4 separate regions of the Homo sapiens genome follow, and regions 1, 2 and 3 are each linked to region 4. Evidence: promoter capture Hi-C in 16 types of primary human blood cells and fetal thymus (Javierre and others, 2016). All regions are on one chromosome and are shown on one strand. Each heading gives the region's core, a stretch centred on a gene start or on the middle of the fragment in contact. The rest is flanking DNA. Distances are from core to core; before and after follow the strand shown. Region 1 overlaps EP300 (EP300 lysine acetyltransferase). Region 2 holds the start of EP300 (EP300 lysine acetyltransferase). Region 3 overlaps EP300 (EP300 lysine acetyltransferase). Region 4 holds the start of RBX1 (ring-box 1).

Region 1 (6,574 bases), core at 172-2,671, 220 kb after region 4:
GGGGGAGGGTGGGGATAGAGTTGGGGTATCGCCATGCTGCCCAGGCTGGACTTGAACTCTTGGCCTCAAGCATTCCAAAGTGCTGGGATTACAGGCATGAGCCACTGTGCCCGGCCTTAAAATATATCTTTTTGTTTTGGTTTTTTGTTGGTTTGGTTTGGGTTGGTTAGGGTTTTAGGGGTGTGGGTGTTTTGTTTTCAGAAAGGGTCACTCTCTGTCACCCAGGCTAGGGTGCAGTGGCATGATACCCGCTCATTGCAACCTGTGCCTCCCAGGCTCAAGCCATCCTCCCATCTCAGCTTCCTGAGTTGCTGGGACTAGGTGCACACTACGAGAGCTAGCTGATTTTTGTATATTTTTTGTAGAGACAGGATGTCACCATGTTGCCCAGGCTGGTCTCAAACTCCTGAGCTCAAGTGATCTGCCCACCTCAGCCTCCCAAAGTGCTAGGATTATAGGCATGAGCCACATCACCCAGCCAAAAATATATTCTCCCTTTTTTTTTTTTGGACGGAGTTTCAGGCTGGAGTGCAATGGTGCAGTCTCCTGGGTTCAAGTGATGGTCCTACCTCAGCCTCCCGAGTAGCTGGGATTACAGGCATGCACCACCAAGCCAGGCTAATTTTTTCTATTTTTAGTAGAGACGGGGTTTCTCCACATTGGTCAGGCTGGTCTCGAACTCCTGACCTCAGGTGATCCACCTGCCTCGGCCTCCCAAAGTGCTGGGATTACAGGTGTGAGTCACTGCACCTGGCCAAAAATATATTCTTAATTAACAGTATTATGTTATTCATAAATATAGGTTGTCTCATGATACAGACTTGTCTTCCTCAATTTAGTAGTTCAACTAAATAAAGAAGTTTTCCTAAGCAGCCCAGCAAATCATTCTGCAGCAGATACTATTTCCAGTATTTGTAGTTTTGGTCATTTTGAACAAAGCTGTCAGTAAAAGCTGCTGAAATTCCAAGGATGGGTGTGAGGAGGGCATGCTTCATACCACATATTCTGTGATAAGGAGTGGTAGGGGCCATGGCATGCATGATGGTGCTACCACCCTGACGTTGATCCTGGCAGGATAATTGCCACTTGGTTATATAAAGGCAGATAAGCTCCCTGTTTTTGTGGGTAGAAGAAATAGAAAACCGGAAATATTGACTTTAGGCCAGGCCTTTTCACTATTTATTTTTCTAAATACTCCCTGGCTTACGGCTTAGGTATAAAGTCTCTGCCAGCTTTCAAGACATTTTAAGCTTTCATGTTTCTTGTCAGCCATGATTATTCTGTATAATCAATGCTTTAAAAGAACATAGAAATTCCTATATGTACATGCATGTTTTCACAGGATATTTTTAAACAAGCTACTGAAGATAGATTAACAAGTGCAAAGGAATTGCCTTATTTCGAGGGTGATTTCTGGCCCAATGTTCTGGAAGAAAGCATTAAGGAACTGGAACAGGAGGAAGAAGAGAGAAAACGAGAGGAAAACACCAGCAATGAAAGCACAGATGTAAGGGCATTGAGTTTCCTTTGAAACTTCTATCATGATTCTAATATTTAATCCAGAAGTGCACTTAAACTTTCAATTGGGTTTTAAAGCTTTCAGGTGTAAAAGAGCTCTTTAAGTTGGACAAGAAATATTGGCTTAGAGAGGTTATTAGGGTTCTGTTTCAGTGGTATTAAACTTTTAAAGCATCAGAGCCCCTTTTAAAATGGCATCTCAGACTTTGAGTAATGTGAAATGATAAAAGAAACTGAAGGAAATCCTGAAAAACTGATAGAAGATTACTTATCTGAAGGACTAGGTTATGAATATTATAGGCCTTGTGGGTCACATATCTCTGGCATATTTTCTGTCTTTTAAAAACACACTCTTTTTAAATGTAAAAAACCATTCTTAGCTATACAAAATAGGCCTGAGCCAGAATTTAAGTTACTAAGCCTGGCTTAGTAACCTCACCAGTTATTTCCCCATAGCATATCTCGAATTACCTCCATTGAATTTAACTTAACAAAAGGCACCCTTAAATAGTCTGTTAACAAACTCTTACAGCCTTGTCATTTAGTATTTGTAGGCTCATAACATTTTAGAATATGAGTGGAAGGAAATAAAACCAAGGTCTTCTGGCTCCCCACTTTGATACACTCTTCACTACCCCAAAGTGCCACCCCTTCCTTGTTCCCTAGCCCCAATCTGGGATACATTCAATCAATCTACAGGGTCTGCACATTCTGTGGCCTCTTCTAGGCAAAAAGCTAAAGGGCTGCCATTGCCTTAAAGATCACTGGGAGAAAATTAGGTCAAATAACAACTTTAAGGAGAAAGAATAAGTGAAGAGAACAGCTAGTAAAATAAGTTACAGGCATAAGATTATGATATCTAGTTTCAAAGAAGGGAGATATTCTGTGCTATTCCCAAATTACTTAACAAAAACCTTATTTTCTTGTCTCCTTTGTGCTACTCTGCAGGTGACCAAGGGAGACAGCAAAAATGCTAAAAAGAAGAATAATAAGAAAACCAGCAAAAATAAGAGCAGCCTGAGTAGGGGCAACAAGAAGAAACCCGGGATGCCCAATGTATCTAACGACCTCTCACAGAAACTATATGCCACCATGGAGAAGCATAAAGAGGTAAGATGCAGCCACCCAGAGTTGGGGAAAAACGGCAAGATTTCTGGCCAGGCATGGTGGCTCACACCTGTAATCCCAGCACTTTGGGAGGCCAAGGCGGGTGGATCACCTGAGGTCAGGAGTTCAAGACCAGCCTGACCAACACGGTGAAACCTTGCTCTACTAAAAATACAAAATTAGCTGGGCATGGTGGCACATGCCTGTAATCCCAGCTACTCAGGAGGCTGAGGCAGGAGAATTGCTTGAACCTGAGAAGCGGAGATTGCAGTGAGCCGAGGTCACTCCATTGCACTCCAGCCTGGGCAACAAGAGCGAAACTCCACCTCAGAAAAAGAAATAAGAAATGAATAAAAACACTGACTGTTCGCTGGGCGTGGTGGCTCATGCCTGTAATCCCAGCACTTTGGAGGTTGAGGCAGGCGGATCACTTGAGGTCAGGAGTTGGAGACCAGCCTGGCCAACATGGCGAACCGAAACCCCGTCTCTACTAAAAATACAAAAATTAGCCTGGCGTGGTGGCACACACCTGTAATCCTTGGGATGCTGGGGTGGGAGGATCACTTGAACCTGGGAGGCAGAGGTTGCAGTGCACTTACAGCCTGGGTGACAGAACGAGACTCTGTTTCAAAAAATAAAAAGATTTAACCTTTCTGAAAGTGAATTAGTAAATAGAATTGGAGAAAAGTTAAACTTCCACATATGGACTTACAACCCCCTTCTCAAAACTTTTTGAGTTATTTCATCATTTACATTGTTTAGTTGTTCTTGCAGTCATTTGGGAAAATAACTGGGTAAGGTTTTTTTTTTCTCTCTTTAATATCATATAATTGATAACGAAAGCCAGGAGAATTGAAGAGTAATTCCTCTCAGGGTTTGTCCAATGGTAGTAATCTCGATTGTTCAGTCAGACTCCTCATTTTACTATCTCGGTTCTCAGACATATAATCAAGTTCTTATAGGAAGTGGTAATTAAGTTGAGAGGGAAATGAAGGCTTGATTTCAGGTTGTAATTCCGTACCTAAAAATTGGTTAAACAGTCTCTTTGGGAGAGAAATAGTTAACAAAATCTTTTTTAGAGAGGAATTTGTTATAATGATGTTATCATGGTGAACACCTATATACATAGGTGTTCAAAGTATCTTTTCCCCCACTGCTCCCCCCATCACCACCCCTTTTTTGTTAGCCTAGAATAATGGGCTACGATGTAATAATGGTAATAACCATTATCTCAGCCATGCTAGTGAAATGGAAGGATTCCTGAGTTCTAATACGTTAGGTAATGATTATTAACAATTAATAGTTACTAGCTATTTCAAGCAGTAAGTAATGCCACAGAATCCTAGGCAGTTGGGAAAAGCCCTTAGAATATATTGTAATAGGTTTGACTTAAATTGTGGACACATTCCATGGCTGTTTAAATTTAGGTTGTAAATCCAAGTATTGGCCTGGTTGTAGGGTGACAGAAGCAGCGAACATTGCTGGCCAGAGACTGTGAGTGTGGCTGCCAGTGTGCACAGATGTTGAATAATCTGTTATCAGTACAGCAGTTTCTCACAAGTTCCTAATTTCTTAAGGGGATGTTTTACATTTTATTACTTTAATAGGTGTTTATAGTTATATACTAATTAATGTCAAATACATATGTAATACCAGCTTTTTATACCTTTTACACTAATGGTTATGAGAATTGATGGTTGTTACAAGTTTTTTCAAACTTCAATGAACAAGAATTTTATTGCTTTGTCAACAAAGACTAAGATTTTTTATCCATTCCATTCCCTTCCAAACCTGTAGGAAAAGTTACACAGGAAAGTTGCATAGGGGACCTTCATGAGTCCAGGCCAGTTGTTTTTCATACTGTCTCCATATTTGGATTTGTCTGGTTTGTTGTAATTAGATTGAGGTTAAACCATGGATTGCATCTTAAAGTAGACTGCCTTGAGGCAAAATGTCCACTGTGCATGGTGCTATACCTCACCCAGACCATTGTTACTCTGAAGGAGTTACTGAATGAAGGAGAAAAAAATCACAGGATGTGCATTTCAGTTCTATTTATAGTCAGTCTCAAGAGACCAAAGAGGTAAAGCAGGAAAAGGAACAGGAGGCGTATGGTGGTGAAACTAACTCAGCATTCGCCAGTCTCATTGGTGCTCAGCCTGCTGTACCTGCTCACACCTGTAATCCCAGCACTCTGGGAGGCTGAGGCAGGCAGATCACTTGAGCTTAGGAGTTTGAGACCAGCCTGGGCAACATGGCGAAGCCTCGTCTCTACAAAAAATGCAGAAATTAGCCAGGTGTGGTGGTGTGGGCCTGTGGTCTCAGCTATTCAGGAGGCCATGGTGGGATAATTGCTTGAGCCCAGGAGGCAGAGGTTGTAGTGAGCCAAGATCACGCCACTGCATTCCAGCCTGGATGACAGAGCGAGGCCCTGTCTCAAAAAAAAGAGACTGTCTGTTTTTCAGGTCTTCTTTGTGATCCGCCTCATTGCTGGCCCTGCTGCCAACTCCCTGCCTCCCATTGTTGATCCTGATCCTCTCATCCCCTGCGATCTGATGGATGGTCGGGATGCGTTTCTCACGCTGGCAAGGGACAAGCACCTGGAGTTCTCTTCACTCCGAAGAGCCCAGTGGTCCACCATGTGCATGCTGGTGGAGCTGCACACGCAGAGCCAGGACCGCTTTGTCTACACCTGCAATGAATGCAAGCACCATGTGGAGACACGCTGGCACTGTACTGTCTGTGAGGTAGGCACCGGGTTGTGGGAAGGAGGAGGTGAGCTCCGCAGGGTTGTTCTGAGGGGCCATGCAGCCACGTATTTTATAGAGGCCTGTGGGATGCTAGGGGCTTGGCCTCGTGTTTGAGGGGCAGAGCTGAAGAGGCTAGTTTTTGTTCTACGAAAGGGGCTTTTCTAGCCCAAACAATATCTAAAATACTTTTGAATGACTTAAATCTTGGAGAGTTTACGTGCACCTCCTGTTTTTTCCCTAGGATTATGACTTGTGTATCACCTGCTATAACACTAAAAACCATGACCACAAAATGGAGAAACTAGGCCTTGGCTTAGATGATGAGAGCAACAACCAGCAGGCTGCAGCCACCCAGAGCCCAGGCGATTCTCGCCGCCTGAGTATCCAGCGCTGCATCCAGTCTCTGGTCCATGCTTGCCAGTGTCGGAATGCCAATTGCTCACTGCCATCCTGCCAGAAGATGAAGCGGGTTGTGCAGCATACCAAGGGTTGCAAACGGAAAACCAATGGCGGGTGCCCCATCTGCAAGCAGCTCATTGCCCTCTGCTGCTACCATGCCAAGCACTGCCAGGAGAACAAATGCCCGGTGCCGTTCTGCCTAAACATCAAGCAGAAGCTCCGGCAGCAACAGCTGCAGCACCGACTACAGCAGGCCCAAATGCTTCGCAGGAGGATGGCCAGCATGCAGCGGACTGGTGTGGTTGGGCAGCAACAGGGCCTCCCTTCCCCCACTCCTGCCACTCCAACGACACCAACTGGCCAACAGCCAACCACCCCGCAGACGCCCCAGCCCACTTCTCAGCCTCAGCCTACCCCTCCCAATAGCATGCCACCCTACTTGCCCAGGACTCAAGCTGCTGGCCCTGTGTCCCAGGGTAAGGCAGCAGGCCAGGTGACCCCTCCAACCCCTCCTCAGACTGCTCAGCCACCCCTTCCAGGGCCCCCACCTGCAGCAGTGGAAATGGCAATGCAGATTCAGAGAGCAGCGGAGACGCAGCGCCAGATGGCCCACGTGCAAATTTTTCAAAGGCCAATCCAACACCAGATGCCCCCGATGACTCCCATGGCCCCCATGGGTATGAACCCACCTCCCATGACCAGAGGTCCCAGTGGGCATTTGGAGCCAGGGATGGGACCGACAGGGATGCAGCAACAGCCACCCTGGAGCCAAGGAGGATTGCCTCAGCCCCAGCAACTAC
Region 2 (6,148 bases), core at 595-3,094, 140 kb after region 4:
ATTTTTGCTTTTTTCCATCCTTACATTACCTTTACCACATTTTTGTTTTTCCCATAATTACATTAGATAAGGCAATGGCTAGACGTGGTCTTTTACTAACTTGTTCTATTGGGAGCGGACGAGAAAAAAAAAAAAGACAAACCCTAGAAATGTCTTCAGGTCCCAGCCATGTTTAGGAAAATACTTGAAGGCTTCTGCGGTGAGAGTGCTACCTGGTAAGGGCGTATGGACACACGTGGAGGGCAAGAAATGAATTTGGGTCTGGTGCCGAAACATCTTTCCACTGCTGTGATTTTGTTTTCTGGTCAGAGTAATAATGCTCGTTGTAAAATAAATAAATAAATAATACATAAAAAGGAAAAGGAAAATTCAGAGAAAATGAAAACAACTCGTAATCAACGTGCTTTTTGGATGTGAACTGCTCCCTTTGGGAGGGCAATGGAGAAGTGAGGACGCACTGGGTATCTGGCCCGGAACAGCCGGCAGTGGGTACACCCTGCCTGGTGAATTCGACCGGGGTTTTGGGGGACCCGCCACCCAAGGGCCGAAGAGCAGGGCCGCCCTACGGGCGCTCCCATTTGGCCACCTGAGTGGCGACTTGGCGCCTTCCTCGGAGCAGCTCCGGGGTTCCGTCGTCCCGGTTCCCACTGGTCCCTTACGCAGAGACCAAAGGCAGGAACCTTCCCTCGTAACTATCCACCGACTGAAAATAGATTCTGAGTCCGCCCCCGCCCCTCCCCCCTTAAAATCCTCCCCACTCTTAAAATCCTCCCCTTTAAAGGGAGCCACAGGGTGACGCCGGGGGAGTTTGCGGAAGCGCTAACCGCGTTGGGGCCTAGGGCGGATCCCGTGATTGGGACAGGCCCCGCCCCCGGCTCCACTTCCCCCATTGTGTGAGCGGCTCGGGCCTAGGCCCCGCCCCCCTCCGGAGGCCCGGCCACTCCCCTTTTCCACCCCCCCTTGGCTCATTTCCGGCCGCCGCCGCTACCGCTAGCCTGTAAGGAGGATTCGGCAGAGGGAAGAAACAACAGCCGCCATCTTGTTTGTGTGCTAGGCTGGGGGGGAGAGAGGGCGAGAGAGAGCGGGCGAGAGTGGGCAAGCAGGACGCCGGGCTGAGTGCTAACTGCGGGAGCCAGAGAGTGCGGAGGGGAGTCGGGTCGGAGAGAGGCGGCAGGGGCCGAGACAGTGGCAGGGGGCCCGGGGCGCACGGGCTGAGGCGACCCCCAGCCCCCTCCCGTCCGCACACACCCCCACCGCGGTCCAGCAGCCGGGCCGGCGTCGACGCCTAGGGGGGACCATTACATAACCCCGCGCCCCGCGGCGTCTTCTCCCGCCGCCGCGGGCGGCCCCGAACGGAGCCCCGGGGGGCGGGCGCTCCCAGCACCTGGCCGCCGGCGGTGGGGGCCGTAGCAGCGGCCGTATTTATTTATTTTCCGCGGGAAAGGAAGGCGAAGGAGGGGAGCGCGGCGCGAGGAGGGGCCGCCTGCGCCGCCGCCGGAGCGGGGCCTCCTCGGTGGGCTCCGCGTCGGCGCGGGCGTGCGGGCGGCGCTGCTCGGCCCGGCCCCCTCGGCCCTCTGGTCCGGCCAGCTCCGCTCCCGGCGTCCTTGCCGCGCCTCCGCCGGCCGCCGCGCGATGTGAGGCGGCGGCGCCAGCCTGGCTCTCGGCTCGGGCGAGTTCTCTGCGGCCATTAGGGGCCGGTGCGGCGGCGGCGGCGCGGAGCGCGGCGGCAGGAGGAGGGTTCGGAGGGTGGGGGCGCAGGCCCGGGAGGGGGCACCGGGAGGAGGTGAGTGTCTCTTGTCGCCTCCTCCTCTCCCCCCTTTTCGCCCCCGCCTCCTTGTGGCGATGAGAAGGAGGAGGACAGCGCCGAGGAGGAAGAGGTTGATGGCGGCGGCGGAGCTCCGAGAGACCTCGGCTGGGCAGGGGCCGGCCGTGGCGGGCCGGGGACTGCGCCTCTAGAGCCGCGAGTTCTCGGGAATTCGCCGCAGCGGACGCGCTCGGCGAATTTGTGCTCTTGTGCCCTCCTCCGGGCTTGGGCCCAGGCCCGGCCCCTCGCACTTGCCCTTACCTTTTCTATCGAGTCCGCATCCCTCTCCAGCCACTGCGACCCGGCGAAGAGAAAAAGGAACTTCCCCCACCCCCTCGGGTGCCGTCGGAGCCCCCCAGCCCACCCCTGGGTGCGGCGCGGGGACCCCGGGCCGAAGAAGAGATTTCCTGAGGATTCTGGTTTTCCTCGCTTGTATCTCCGAAAGAATTAAAAATGGCCGAGAATGTGGTGGAACCGGGGCCGCCTTCAGCCAAGCGGCCTAAACTCTCATCTCCGGCCCTCTCGGCGTCCGCCAGCGATGGCACAGGTTAGTTTCGGCAGCCCCGGCCTTCCACGTTCCCTTTAATCTTTTCTACTCGGTGCGCCTTTATTCTTCCATTTTTTTTTTCTTCCTCTCTCTCTAGTTCCCTGCCCCTTAATTAATTTTAAAGGTATTTGAATGAGCTGGTCGAAGACGTCCAGTAGCCCAACCATTTTCTTTGCCTCCTAATACATTGATTGCAACACTATGTCATATCGGTGTGTGTTCTGGAATTAGAGCTCGTAAGTGGGTGCTATATAGAAATGGCCTGTATTGTTGCTCTCATGCAATTTAATTTGGGAAATGCCAATGCATTTGTGTGTAAGAGCTCCTATGCAATTTAAGTTTCATTTTTTTTGTTCTTGGCAAATGAATTTCGAATCCTTTCTCTTTACTGTACTTACTGTGTTTCCTCTACTTTCCACTCTTCGAAATTTTCTCTCCTTTGCAGAATATTTTCTGTTGAGGAATAGGGTGTAAAAAAATCTTGATTTTGTGTGTGCGAGGTCCAAGATTTCAGGTTAGAGGTGAAGTTTAACAATTCTTTTATCTTACCTACCATTCTTAGCTTTTTTTTCCTTTTTCTTCTTATTTGCTTTAAGAATCAATATGGAGCGCAGTTCATTTCACATCTCCCAGTTCTTTGGTGTGAGACCAAAATGTCTGAAACTCTGGGTTTTTAGGTTGGGAGAACAGGGGCATGTTCTTTGCAGTTTGCAGTCACTTTCTCATTTTAGGGGAAATAAGATAAACAATTTTGTGGAGTTACGTACCTGGAAATCAAGGTTAGAAGTTGAAAGAGTTCCAATCATGAACTACAAACGTGAACTGATTGTACAAAAGTTTAAAATGTGCATTAGGTTTGGTGTTTGTGTGTGTCTTTGTCTTTTTACACTTTTAAACATACTTGGAGATCAAGATTTTCGTTTAAAAGCTTTACGACCAGTTCATTCAGTTGTGGACTAGCTCCTTTGTCAGGAGAAGTTCAGGGAGACTTCTTCCATCATCCCTTCATTCTTTTCTTACAGTTAGTTTAATGGTGTTATCCTGATGGGTAAGGACCTTTTCTTTGCTGGGATAATGAAGATGAAGAATGGCTGGCCATCTGACAGTCCACAAGATGTTCCCCTTTACTACGGAGCATCTCTTTAACTCCCTGAGAGCAGGCTCAGCGTCATCCCTCCATCTGCCAGTGAGAGTGCATAATGGAGTTAAATGTACCCTTTGAGTTTGTAGAGAACTTCGAGAGCATGTTTCTAAATAGGCTTCATTTCAGAGGGTGAAAATGGGAAGACAGAGCTAATGCTTTGAATTCGTTGCTTTTATAAGAAAGATGTGAAATGAATTTAAGTTAACCTGCAAAAATTGAGAAGTAGGAATCTTGCGAGTTCCTCTACCTAAGGCTTGTAACATTGATTATGCATGAACTTTGATCTGTACCTATTCTATGAAGGTACTGTAGTCTCCAGGGATTTTTTTAGCTGGTTTTTTCCTTCAGAATTCATACACATACACAAACGTCGTTGTATTCCTTTGCACCTACTAAAGTGCCATTCAGAAACATTTTTTAGATCATCTTTAGAGACTTAATCACCTGTAGATTTTTGTGGTGTTTCTTTCGTATTTGTGTAATGTGGTAGTTTTTGCTTTTTAGTTTTGGTGTAACGTGGTAGTCGATTTTACATTGGAGTTAGCCAGTGACTTGGAACGTAGGGGAAACTTTTTTGTGTACTTTGAGTAGTCCTGATTTGAGCAGTTTCGTCTTGGAGCTGTATTGTTTAAATACTTCTGTTCAGGTGTGCTACTACTTTCTCCATGTCGGTCTGTTTTGCTACTTGAAATATCTTTGAATAATTACAAGAGTTTTAAATGTGTTAAGTGGGCTTTTATAGTTTAAAAAAAAACTCAACATTGAGATTAATTCATTCACTCATAATGCTAAGAGTTTATCTTAGTTACTTTTCTAAATTTTGTAATGAGGGTTAACTTTACCCCCCTCCCCAAATCAAGATTCTACTCCAGGAATTCTTTGGTGTACGGTTTTTAATTGTAACCAGTCTGGGTTTGGGGGAGGGGAGAAGTGAGTATAAAGAAAATACTGTCCCTCTGTTAACTTACTTCAAGTTGGGTACCATTGTAATTTTTTTTTTTTTTTTTTTTTTTTTGAGATGGAGTCTCATTCTGTCACCCAGGCTGGAGTGCAGTGGTGCGATCTCACTACAACCTCTGCCTCCTGGGTTAAAGCAGTTCTGTCTCAGCCTCCCTAGTAGCTAGGACTACAGGCGCAGACCACCACGCCTGGCTGATTTTTGTATTTTTAGTTGAGACAGGATTTCACCATATTGGTCAGGCTGGTCTCGATCTCCTGCCCTCAAGTGATCCACCCACCTTGGCCTCCCGAAGTGCTGGGGTTACAGGTATGAGCCGCCCGGCCAGAGGTACCATTATATCTTGAATTTTTTTTTTTTGACATTCTGCAGTTTGTAATATGTTTGCAGGTAACTTTTATTGGAGGCACATCACCTCTTAAAACTTTTAAGTTTCAAACTTGTAACTTTTGATTTTTGAGTTGTCACTTGGGTATTTTATAAATGTGAAAGAAAATTATTTCTTGATATTATGGTTTTTGTCTAGAACTGGTTGAAATAAGCCCGAAATTCTAGCACCTAAAACTTTTTTAAAAAAAGTGATTTAGGCTTGCAAATTTCGTGATGTAAATATATCCACCAAGAGCGTTCTAATGTCAGCTTTAAAGGAAAGAAAACTGGAATCCAATGGGATGACATGCTAAAGTGTTACAAATCAAATTATTACTTAAATCTCAACCTCTGAATTGCTGTTTAATACTCAGATATTCTCCTAAAAAATTTCCAGGTTGATTCAAATAACTTAGGTTAAACTCAACTTTTACGTGTTGGGATGGGGAAGAGAAGACTTATTTGTAGCCTTCACACCTTTATGTTCCTGTTTCAGTATTTGCATTTGATCCATTGAAATTTTTATTTCATTTGGTATGGTTAGGGTAAAACAAATCATTTGAGAAATGACATTTTGTTCTCCCTCTCCCTCCAAAAAAAAAAGATTATGAAAGCCACTTGTAAACTTTTTTTGTAAAAATGACCAAAAGACTGGAAAAGTTAATGTTAGGCAAATCCTGGAAATATCTTTTGGAGCTGTTTCTGATCATCTTGAGTGATGGAAATGATGAGGGTCATCTGTTGTCTTCATTACTCAGTGAACACGTTTTGTCACTGCTTGGTAAACGCTTAATGCCGTATGCACTTAAAAAGCACCTGGAAAGATAGGATTTTAGGATCTGGCATATAATTAAGTAGGGTAAAGATCCTTCTGGTCTTGGTACAGTTTTGTGGCCCTGGGTTTTGTGCTTTTTTGTTTTTTGAGTTTTTCCCCCATTTCAAAGACACAGGGCAGATAGTGTGTAAAGTATACCTGCTTTTTGACCAGTAGATTAATGTACACAGTGGAGAAGTGGTAAGGCTTTTTAAAATGTCAGCTCTACTTTTTTTTTTTTTTTTTTTTTTTGAGACAGAGGTTTGCTCTCGTTGCCCAGGCTGGAGTGCAGTAGCTCGATCTTGGCTCACTGCAATCTCAACCTCCCAGGTTCAAGCGATTCTCTGCTTCACCCTCCTCAGTAGCTGGGATTGCAGGTGTCCACAACCATGCCCAGCTAAGTTTTGTATTTTTTAGTGGAGACAGTATTTCACCATTTTGGCCAGGCTGGTCTCGAACTCCTGACCTCAGGTGATCCACCCGCCTCAGCCTCCCAAAGTGCTGGGAATACA
Region 3 (4,721 bases), core at 872-3,371, 200 kb after region 4:
TCCTACACCTCCTGCCATGCCACCTGGGCCACAGTCCCAGGCTCTACATCCCCCTCCAAGGCAGACACCTACACCACCAACAACACAACTTCCCCAACAAGTGCAGCCTTCACTTCCTGCTGCACCTTCTGCTGACCAGCCCCAGCAGCAGCCTCGCTCACAGCAGAGCACAGCAGCGTCTGTTCCTACCCCAACAGCACCGCTGCTTCCTCCGCAGCCTGCAACTCCAGTAAGTAGAGATTTGGATTTAGGCAGAATCATTAGAGCTATACTGTAGTATTATATTACTTCTGGGCCATTTCCATTCTCTTTTGCTTTATCTCTTACTGTTTTCTCCACAAGTAGAATGTAATCTATTTTTCATTAGGGACTTTTGTATCCTGTTTTGCCTTCCTGTGATAGTACCTATCGTAGCAGGAGCATAAAGATTTTATTTAGCTCTGACTTTGACCATTATGTTTCATGTTGTACCCTGAGGTCTGAAGGTACGTAAAGGGGTACGACAAGGGGACACAATCCTTCTCCTTATTTAGTATATTATTTAGTGCAGCACATAAATTTTACATATATTTAAGGAATCTTTTTCAAACAGTTTGAGCCATAAAACCTAGAGATTGAATTTAAAAATTGCAGATTTGGACGGGCGCGGTGGTGTACACTTTTCATCCTAGCACTTTGGGAGGCTGTGGCAGGCAGATCACTTGAGGTCAGGAGTTCAAGACCAGCCTGGCCAACATGGTGAAACCCTGTCTCTACAAAAAAATAACAAAAATTAGCCAGACATGGTAGCGGGTGCCTGTAATCCCAGCTACTCGGGAGACTGAGGCAGGAGAATGGCTTGAACCTGGGAGGTGGAGGTTGCAGTGATCCGAGATTGCGCCACTGCACTCTAGCCTAGGCGACAGAGTGAAACTCCGTCTAAAAAAAAAAAAAAAAATTGCAGATTTATGAGTCCTTGTGGCCCAAACCAAAGTTTAAAAATAAGATGAGAGAATTATAGACCCAGAACAACCTGTAGCTTCCTTGTGAGAGGTTGGTTATGTATATAATAAAAATCCAAATTCTCATCTAATAGTTGAATCCTTATTAATAGAACTTTTTTTAAGGGTTTAGAAGCTTCTACTTTGATACCGATATTAATATATATCGGTATCCAATAGTTCTCAGCCATGTTGATGAACTGAGAAGTTCCATGAGTCACAGCCGTTTTATAAAGTACTGTACTTGACGGATGGCTGGTTCATCGTGGCCTCTGATAGACAAGGAAGGACAGAATGAGAGAGGAACCAGTGGATCTGCTTGATTTTATTCTTTATAAAATCAAGGATACTTCCAGAAAATACTGACTTCTCATTAAGAGATTTCTTATGACAAGCCTTAGGATAAAGATAGGGAATGCCAGTTTATCTCATTAGAATCTAGCGATTCAAAACAGCCACTCTCTGGGACATCATTATATTTATTGTCTCCTTTTCTGTACCTTTGAAACTTTCTCTGGTGAGAAGGTAAAAACAAGCCAGTCTTTCTTATTTTCTTTCACTCATTTCTGTATAAATGTGAGCTCCTCTGAAGCAGACATCTTTGAAATCCCCACACACTGCCAGATAATGATAGTTATCAATGAAATAGTTGCTGGTTCTTTGATGTACAATCAGCCAACCAGTATTTACAAGTCTTAATTCTCCTGTTCTTAAGCATAATTAAGGGAGGTGAAATGGGCAGAGCAAATGAAAGCACCATGAATAAATATAAGCCAAGAAATAGGTGGCTAATTCTGCTATCCTGTTGCTTACCTTACATTCTGATTGTATCGTTGGCAGACTCTGCGTGTGTCTCACCTACTTCCCTTTTTTTTCTGCCCAGCTTTCCCAGCCAGCTGTAAGCATTGAAGGACAGGTATCAAATCCTCCATCTACTAGTAGCACAGAAGTGAATTCTCAGGCCATTGCTGAGAAGCAGCCTTCCCAGGAAGTGAAGATGGAGGCCAAAATGGAAGTGGATCAACCAGAACCAGCAGATACTCAGCCGGAGGATATTTCAGAGGTGAGAGTAGGGCAATTACTGTTTGATTTGGTTAGGACCTCAGTATAGGAACCCAAGTTTTAAAAAATATTGCAGAAAAATATTTTGATAATTAGATCTCATGGCATAGATTTTGCATGAGAAAGGGTGTTCAGATTACTGATTCCCAACTAGATATCTTTGGAATACTAAAAATTCTTACGTTTTCTTTTAGTCTAAAGTGGAAGACTGTAAAATGGAATCTACCGAAACAGAAGAGAGAAGCACTGAGTTAAAAACTGAAATAAAAGAGGAGGAAGACCAGCCAAGTACTTCAGCTACCCAGTCATCTCCGGCTCCAGGACAGTCAAAGAAAAAGAGTGAGTCTCTGAAGCCATTCGTTCTGGAGGTAGCTGAAGAAACCAAAGACCCAGGGCAGAATTGCGGTCATGCCTCTTGGGCCTCAGAAGTTGCCATTATTGTGATTTCATTAACCTGGAAGCCCTGGGCCTGGTCTCTTCATTGTTACTAATAATTTTTCTTTCTTTTTTTTTTTTTTAATATTCACTTGCAGCAACCAATGAGTTAAGTCATTCCCCTCATTTCTTCAGGGTTCCCTGTGTTAGTACACCCTAAAAATTGTCTCATTTTTCAGGAGAGAGAAATGTTTGTAAATAGCCTTGACTAAAATGCAGGAAAGAATAGCAATAGTAATAGCATTTGTCATTCACCTGCTGTGTGCTAAGTATCCACATTGTCTCATTTAATAATTTCTTTCTTTCTTTTTCTTTTCTTTTTTGTTTGGAATCGGATTCTCACTTTTGTTGTTCAGGCTGGAGTGCAGTGGCGGGATCTGAGCTCACTGCAACCTCCACCTCCCAGGTTCAAGCGATTCTCCTGCCTCAGCCTCCCGAGTATCTGGGACTGCATGCGCATGCCACCATGCCCGTCTAATTTTTGTATTTTTAGTAGAGACAGGATTTCACCGTGTTGGCCAGGATGGTCTCGATCTCTTGACCTGGTGATCCACCCGCTTCGAGCTCCCAAAGTGCTGGGATTACAGGCATGAGCTACCACACCCGGCCTCATTTAATAATTTCACAACAGCTCTGAGGTTATTGGCCTGAAGCTTAGCAAAGTTAAGTAACTTTCCACAGGTTACTCAGCTGACCCTACTGCCTGGGCCAGGAAGCAGACCCAGGCAGTCTGAGGCAGAGTGCTCAAATCCAGCCATTCCAACAAGTGTTAATTGACTATTTTAGGACTAGAACTTTTGTGGCTCTAGTGATCTGCAAAAGGCACCAGGTAGGACATACCTGAGGAGTGAGTCTGCTGGCTCTTACAGATGATATATATTGAAAAGTGTTCCATTAATACAATGTGTTGTAAAATGTTGGGATTAAAAAATTATTTTCATTTTAAAAATAAGACTTGTATATATTGAGGTGTTTTAATATGGGCTGTAACAAACCCAGTCTTACTATTGGCAATCTCTCTTTAAAATGTGTGTTCCCTCATGCCTGTAATCCCACCGCTTTGGGAGGCCGAGCGGGCAGATCACTTGAGGTCAGGAGTTCAAGACCAGCCTGGCCAATATGGTGAAACTCTGTCTCTACTAAAAGTACAAAAGTTAGCCGGGTGTGGTGGCTCTCACCCGTAGTCCCATCTACTTGGGAGGCTGAGGCAGAAGAATCACTTGAACCCGGGAGATGGAAGGAGGTTGCAGTGAGCCAAGATGGCGCCACTGCACTCCAGCCTGAGTGACAGAGAGTAATTGTCTCAAACAAATAAATAAAATAAAATGTCTAATTTCACAAGTTTATTCAAATAGTCCTTATTTTTAGCACAGCTAAATATGAGTGACAAGCATCTTCGTAGTCTGGTTTCCCCCCACTCCATGGCAACCCCCCAGAGGTGAAAATTATCTGAAGTAACAAATATACTCTACCGATGATGAAATTTTTTTTGCCAATTAAGAAAAAATAAGGCCCTTGCTGAAATTGAAAGCTTTTTAAATCACTGGCTTCTCAAAGAACTGTTTGATTCCATTTGGGACACACCAACAAATTTTTCCGGACTTTTTGGGAAATATCATTGAGAACACATTTGAACTTAATTTGATCAACTAAGTCTATTATTTTAGCAATACCATTTTTGTTCTCTCTTCTTTTAAACTTAAACCTAACATTTGTCATTAAAATAGTACATGTCTCTTTTTCTTTGGCTCTAAAATACCAAGCATTTGAACGAAGGAGTCTTCTCTTCTGTGCCCCTGACTCCTTGTAGTATAAGACAATACCTGATCTAGTCTAGTTTCTGACTTGTTAAATACTGATGTCATGAAGAAAGACTTTTCTGTTCTTGCTTGACTGCATCTCCCTCTTAACACGAGTATCTTGTGCACTCTTTTTTTTTTTTTTTTTTTTTTTGAGATGGGGCCTCATTCTGTTGCCTAGGCTGGAGTGCAGTGGCGCCATCTCGGCTCACTGCAACATCTGCCTCCCGAGTTCAAGCAGTTCTCTTGCCTCAAGCCTCCTGAGTAGCTGAGACTAGCATGCCACCATGTCCGACTAATTTTTTATATTTTTAGTAGAGACGAGGTTTCACCATGTTGGCCAGGCTGAAACTTCTGACCTCAAAGTGATCTGCCCACCTCAGCCTCCACCGTGCCTGGTCCCATGGACTCTTATTTGGCAAAGTCTCTTCATAAATTTTTAGAA
Region 4 (6,650 bases), core at 388-2,887:
CCACACCCAGCTAATTTTTGTATTTTTAGTAGGGACGGGGTTTCGTCATGTTGGCCAGGCTGGTCTCAAACTCCTGACCTCAGGTAATCCACCTGCCTCGGCCTCCCAAAGTGGCTCCCAGGCGTGAGCCACCGCGCCCAGCCTATTCTTTCTCTTTAGCAATAGAGTCAGCACGCTCCATTACCCGCCAGTTATCTTTTAAGAGAAAATACAAGGCTTCAAATGCACCTGTACGACATCTAAGAGTGCTCTGGCAGAGTCACACCTCTGCAAGGTTAGAGATGTCAAAGGGAGTCCTGGTCTAGCCAGAAATGGGAGAGTGACAAAGTACAGGTGCTTGGGTCGGGTGGGATGGCTCACTCCTGTGATCCCAGCACTTTGGGAGGCCGAAGTGGGAGGATCACTTGGGCCCAGGAGTTCGAGACCAGCCTAGGCAACATAGTGAGACCTTGTCTCTATTTTTTAAAAAAATTAAAAAAGAAAAAAAAAAAAAGCGGCTCTAGCACTTTGGGAGGCCGAGGCAGGCGGATCACCTGAGGTCAGGAGTTCGGGACCAGCCTGGCTAACGTGGTGAAACCCCGTTTCTACTAAAAATACAAAAAATTAGCCGGGCGTGGTGGCGGGCGCCTGTAATCTCAGCTACTCGGGAGGCTGAGGCAGGAGAATCGCTTGAATCCTGGAGGCGGAGGTTGCAGTGGGCCGAAATCGCGCCATTACACTCCAGCCTGGGCAACAAGAGTTAAAAAAGAATGCCTCACAAAAATTCAAGAAATACAGCGACTGCAGATGGGTCGGTTTCACTACAGCACAAGCAGCGGAAAAAGGACACAGATCGGGGAGAAATCACCCTACAAAGATGACAACTGAGGAATGCGGAGTGGGGACTGACACACGTTACGGTGAAACCGTGCACCACGACCAAAGGCGGTCCTAGGACTGCGACTATGTGGGCGCAGAGGCCACCCCCCAGGCTTGGCGGGCGAGTAAAGGCAGGGCTGGGGGCCTGCTCAGTGTGGCCTTAGGGAGGAACTTCGGGGGTCTCCTCTCTCCCCATCGAATCCCTGAGCAGTTCCCGAACAGAAATCGGAGACCAGACGGTGCCTGGGCCCCAGCCCTCCCACGGGGACTGCACCTTGGGCCTGGCTCGGAAGCGGGTCAGAGTCTGCGAAAGACCAGCGAGGACTCTTGGGTTTCGGGGCAGGCCGCGGGCGCCCACCCACGCCAGCACCGGGAGCCGCGCGGCGACTCGGCGAGCCCGGCAGGCAGGACAGGACTGCGGCGCAGGTCTGGCTCAGGCGGAGGAAGCAGCCGCCGCCCCAGCTGACGGAGTGCGGCCGGGGGCTTCCCAGAGGAGGCGGCGACGTCGAGCCCTTTCGAACGTTTCCACCCGGCTAGCTCACGTAGCCTCGGCCCCGCCCGGCCCCGCCCGGCCCCGCCCCACCCACTCCGGCCACCGCCCCCTCCCCGGCCTACAGTTCGCGGGTGGGGCGACCTGCGACAGCCCCTTTAAGAGGCGTGGTCACGTGCTCCGCCCCCACCTCCGCCTCGCGCGCCAGTAAGGGGTGGGGTGCGGGAGGAGGTGCCGGGGAGGTGGGGGGAGCGAAGTGTGCGCTGCTGCGCAGGCGCGGTGGTCGGACGACAGACCGTGTGTTTCCAAAATGGCGGCAGCGATGGATGTGGATACCCCGAGCGGCACCAACAGCGGCGCGGGCAAGAAGCGCTTTGAAGTGAAAAAGGTTGGGTCTCGCCAGCGCCTTCCTCAGGGAAGCTAGAGAGGCGCGGATCTGGCTGGCAGGCCCGAGGATGGTCGAGGCGCGGAGTAAAGGGTTTCATTTCAGGGCGTTCCTGGGACCGGGTACCACGAAAGGAAGCCGGGGGGCGGGTCTTAGAGTTGATCGGCGTGACGGCGGCCCACTGTTGGGGGAAGTGTTGGTTTCGCTGTGAGGCTAAGGGGCCAATCACAGAGCTGCTTATTGAGATACGCGGGGTTGCGACTTGGCGGCGGGAGCCAAGCGCTTGAGCTGTCACTGGAGTGGTTGAGAGGTGGGGGAAGGACAGGGTAGGGTGGGGTGGGGTGGGTGGAATGGGGAGTCGAAGCGAATGCGGCGGTGGAGGATGGGGCAGTGCGGCGAGAGCCTGGAACCTGAGGTCCTACCGCATTAGAGGCCTCTGAGGACCCCCCTTGGTGATCTTGCTCCGCCCCTTTTTGAAGCTTGGGGTCCTCTCACTTGGAGGGGTCCTCTCACTTGGAGGGATCCTCGCTGAACCGAGGCCTCACACTGCCTGGTTAGAGTCTGGAGTGTAATGCTTGGCTCTTCTGAGACGTCTGTTGGCTTTTCACACAACCACCCCACTCTTGGGTTCTCTGTCACGTCCAGAATCTCCCCCTTCCAAAATAATAATAAAAAGCATGGTGGAACTTGTTAAGAAAATCCGAGCCCAAATCCTGTGGCAGTTAGGGAGGGTTGAGTACTAGTCGCGAACGACTTGGTAAGCGTGGGAAAGCAAAAATGGAACGTGTCTTTTTGCATGAAATGCCTTTTAGTGGTTTGCCACAGTTTGGGAGAACAGTATCGATTCTCACCTAACATGAAAGCTGTTCAAAATGGAGATTCTAAAATAGGGAAGATATTCCTAGAACATCTGGCTAAACACTGACAATATCCCCCGTCCTAGTGCTTTTTGGTGTCTCATTGTGGCCACTGCTGCTCAGTTACAGCCAGCAGCCATATTGAAAAATAATAGAAGTAGGGGCTTTTCCTCCACCTTGAAGCTGTGATGTGAAAAGTGGTAAAGAAGTTACTAGGCACTGAGAATGGGGTTTGAAAGCGAAGAAGGTTTGGGAGTATTTGTAATTGAGGAAGCCAGAGTTGAATGAATGAAATTCTGTTAAACTCTTACTGGAATTATTATCTTAATAGAAGAGTCTAAACATATAAAAGTTGAGAACATCAGTTTATTTTATGGTAAGAATCAAAATTCTAGTGAATTGTAGAATTTGTTATGAAGTAATCTAAGATTTAAGTGATGACCTTGTTCTGTGTACTGACACGGGTATTTAATTATCCAGCTTATCCCATGATTACCCATTTTATGATCCAGTCATTATCTTAGTTCATTCTGTTCTCTAGCTTTCACTTCATTGCTCATGCTTCCAGAGCTGTGTAGAGCAGATACTTATTCAGATTTTGAGCTCTTCTGCAACTGCCACCAAAACCTGCACAGAAATTCAAGTTTGTGCCCTTTTTTTTTTTTTTTTTTTTTTTTTGAGATGGAGTCTCACTCTGTCGCCCAGGCTGGAGTGCAGTGGCACGATCTTGGCTCACTGCAACCTCCGTCCCCCAGATTCAAGCGATTCTCCTGCCTCAGCTTCCCAAACAGCTGGTATTATAGACACCCGCCACCAGGCCTGGCTAATTTTTGTATTTTTAGTAAAGATAGGATTTTGCCATGTTGGCCAGGCTGGTCTTGAACTCCTGACCTCAGTGATCGGCCCGCCTCGGCCTCCCAAAATGCTAGGACTATAGGCGTGAGCCACTGCACCCGGCCAGACTAAATTATTTTAAACTATAGGAAACAAATTAAAAGATGACATTAATTTCTGTGTTCATATACTCAGCCTTTTGGAGAATAGAACATACGTGTAGTCTACTGTTGTCTTTGGTATAATAAGATTAACGTAATATCCAAAAACTTTTGTTTGGTGGTTCCCTGTGGCCAAAGAGATGATAACTGCAGCTGCAGCCTGAGGTCCTAAAGAGTATGTGTGTGTGTTACAAGCAGAATGCACTGTTCCCTCTTTTTGTCTTTGCAGTGGAATGCAGTAGCCCTCTGGGCCTGGGATATTGTGGTTGATAACTGTGCCATCTGCAGGAACCACATTATGGATCTTTGTAAGTAATTGGAGGAGGATGGGAGGAAGTTGAGAAGGTTGCAGAGATTGTGGCTATCTTGATGTGACTGATTTTCTTCTTCACACGAGGAGATAGCAAGCCTACTCTGAGCACTCGGTCTTCTGTATCTAGTCTGTTGGTGTGTTTGAAATAGAGTAGTTTTTTTATGATGTCCTGGAGGCATACCCAGCTCTCAGAATAAATCTACTCAATCTAAAGATGGCAGGGACACATTTAGAATTAATTGTGGACGACAGGCACTGTTGATTTTTCCTGCATATCTTCCATCTTGTACCTAGACTCAAAGGTAGAAATAGTGAAAGGAGGAAAATAAACTTTGAGCTAAAATATTCTGAGGCCAAGCGCAGTGGCTCATGCTTGTAATCCCAGCACTTTGGGAGGCCAAGGCGGGCAGATCATTTGAGGCCAGGAGTTGACCAACCTGGCCAACATGGTGAAACCCTGTCTCTACTAAAAATACAAAAATTAGCTGGGCGTACTGGTGCATGTCTGTAATCCCAGCTACTTGGCAGGCTGAGGCAGGAGAATTGCTTGAACCTGGGAGGCAGAGGTGGCAGTGAGCCGAGATCACACCACTGCACTACAACCTGGGCGACACAGCAAGACTCAAAGTCTCAAAAAAAAAAAAAAGTCTATCTGATCTAATTTTTGCTGGTCATTGTTTACAAAGGAAAGAAGCGTTAAGGAGTGAGGATTTTGTATGTTAGGCCCAAACATAATAAAAAGGAAATCATTGCCAACATCTAAATAAATAATTAATTGCACTAAAGAAATTTCATTTAAATCTCCACATATTTTATTACATGTAGTGGTCAGCACATAGTGATCTGATTATAGTCTTTGATGAACTGATTTCCTGTCCTTACAGTAGAAGGGACAAGAATGTTGATCACACCAGGAACAGTTGAGGTTACTTTTTCATCCGGGAACTAAAATGATTTGTTACTGAGGCCAGAAATGGAGGAAAGAAACTTTAAGTTTCTAGAAATGGAATTATAGGAACTTATTTTTCAGATCACTCACCTGCCTTTACAACTTTGTCTTGAGTCACTCCTGCTCACTCTGTTAGTTTACCTGGATGCTTTTTTTTTTTTTTAACTGACCACGGTGGCCAAAGCAGCCATGGCCCCGGCCAGTTTTCCATTTTTTTTCCTTATTCTGAGATGGAGTCGCCCAGGTTGGAGTGCAGTGGCGTGATCTCAGCTCACTGCAACCTCCGCCTCCCGAGTTCAAGTGATTCTCCTGCCTCAGCCTCCTCAATAGCTGGGATTACAGGCACCTGCCACCACACCCAGCTAATTTTTGTATTTTTAGTAGAGACACAGTTTTACCGTGTTGGCCAGGCTGGCCTCGAACTCCTGACCTCGGGTGATCCGCGTGCCTCTGCCTCCCAAAGTGTTGGGATTACAAGCATAAGCCACCATGCCCGGCCTGCTTTTCCATTCTTAAGTGTCCATGCTCTATTTTAGAGCCCTTAAATAGCCTAGTCTTTTTTGCCTAGAATATTCTTCACCTCTTCTCTTCCTTGGTTTTGTCTAACCCAGCACTGTCCAATCTGAATGTAAGCCAGTACAAACACGTATATAATTTTAAATTTTCTTTTTCCTTTTTTTTTTTTTTTGTTTTTTTCAGAGACGGGATCTCGCTTTGTTGCCCAGGCTGGTCTCGAACTGGCTTCAAGTGATCCTCCCACTTTGGCCTTCCAAAATGTTGCGATTATAGGCGTGAGCCACTGTGGCTGGCCTGAAATTTTCTAGTATCCACATTCATAAAGTAAAAAGAAAATAAAAAGGTGAAATTAATGTATTTTATTTAACCTTATATAGTCAAAATAGTTTTACTTCAACATGTAATTGATGTAAAAAAAAAATGAGATATTTTACATTCTGTCTTTGTACTATCTTTGAAATTCTGTGTATTTTACACTTACAGCACATCTGGATTCAGACTAGCCACATTTCAAGTGCTCAGTAGTCACATGTGGTTAATAACTACTTTATTGTGCAATGTAAGACTAACCCATAGTTGAGCTTTAGATCTTATCTTAAACTTGCTCAGATGTTTTCAACTTGAAAAGCACGAATCAAATATTTTCTGTTGGAAAGCAGTCATGGCTTATACTGGTCATGTATTGCCCTTGGCTTCTTTGAGCTTTGACACTGTTTATCTCTTCACACTACAGCCAAGGAAGATCAGCACCTACCATAATGTTTAATATAGATGCCGTGAACCCATCACAGAAAAACATATGCAGGGTTTCAAATGTGTTTGGGTGGGGTCTTTGATTACATGCTTGCCAGTTTCTCGGCCTTGCATTTTCACAAGGAGTTATACCCAGAGAAAATTTTACTTTCTTGGGGCTCTGTTTTGAAAATAGTTAATGATTTTTAATGATTTTATATAACCCTGATTTTTTTTTCTCTATATTTAAGTCAGTGTATATGTGTCTCTGGATATGAGAGAATGTACTTCTTAAAAGGACCACAGAAGACAAAGGCGATCTATATTGTCTTCTCTTAGAGTGAAATGCTTGAGACATCATATTAGGCTTTCAGTGGGATACCTGTTTTGTTTCATAATATATTTTGAATGTCAGATGAAGTAGGATATTGAAATCCTATAACAAAAACTTATGAAAGTATTTTCTAAGTCCTATCTTTTATTTATCCAATGAATATATCCTGAGCATCCTGGTAGGCACCAGGATAAAACAATGAGTGAGATCGGGCAGGTCTT

Evidence for each region. The method cuts DNA at HindIII sites, captures the fragments that hold promoters and counts their contacts. A CHiCAGO score of 5 or more calls a contact.
Region 1: a contact is called between a fragment that was not itself captured here and the fragment with the promoter of RBX1 in region 4, in 1 of 17 cell types (endothelial precursors). The highest score is 5.8, in endothelial precursors.
Region 2: the fragment with the promoter of EP300 here is called in contact with the fragment with the promoter of RBX1 in region 4 in 17 of 17 cell types (naive CD4 T cells, megakaryocytes, total CD8 T cells and 14 more); the score reaches 30.1 in naive CD4 T cells.
Region 3: a fragment that was not itself captured here is called in contact with the fragment with the promoter of RBX1 in region 4 in 4 of 17 cell types (endothelial precursors, M2 macrophages, M1 macrophages and 1 more); the score reaches 6.3 in endothelial precursors.

What each region holds. Positions count from the first base shown.
Region 1 is chr22:41,171,157-41,177,730 of GRCh38, forward strand. It overlaps EP300 (EP300 lysine acetyltransferase), which reads left to right. Exons shown (of 31, transcript NM_001429.4): 28 at 1,343-1,507; 29 at 2,467-2,628; 30 at 5,091-5,372; 31 at 5,617-6,574. Among named protein-coding and RNA genes, the nearest start is that of EP300-AS1, 23 kb to the right of the region's middle. The HindIII fragment of the contact is 346 bases long and covers 1,249-1,594 here.
Region 2 is chr22:41,090,748-41,096,895 of GRCh38, forward strand. EP300 (EP300 lysine acetyltransferase) reads left to right here and starts at 1,845. Exons shown (of 31, transcript NM_001429.4): 1 at 1,845-2,351. The coding sequence starts at 2,258. MIR1281 (microRNA 1281) reads left to right here and starts at 1,766; the gene lies at 1,766-1,819. RefSeq lists silencers at 746-1,035, 1,136-1,905, 2,086-2,185 and an enhancer at 2,296-2,535. The HindIII fragment of the contact is 3,482 bases long and covers 1-3,277 here.
Region 3 is chr22:41,149,970-41,154,690 of GRCh38, forward strand. EP300 (EP300 lysine acetyltransferase) reads left to right here. Exons shown (of 31, transcript NM_001429.4): 14 at 1-229; 15 at 1,864-2,043; 16 at 2,237-2,381. Among named protein-coding and RNA genes, the nearest start is that of EP300-AS1, 45 kb to the right of the region's middle. RefSeq lists an enhancer at 1,410-2,609. The HindIII fragment of the contact is 2,014 bases long and covers 1,115-3,128 here.
Region 4 is chr22:40,949,741-40,956,390 of GRCh38, forward strand. It overlaps RBX1 (ring-box 1), which reads left to right and starts at 1,638. Exons shown (of 5, transcript NM_014248.4): 1 at 1,638-1,736; 2 at 3,815-3,893. The coding sequence starts at 1,659. RefSeq lists enhancers at 600-1,190, 1,705-1,914, 2,370-2,958 and a silencer at 1,075-1,654. The HindIII fragment of the contact is 5,907 bases long and covers 1-2,210 here.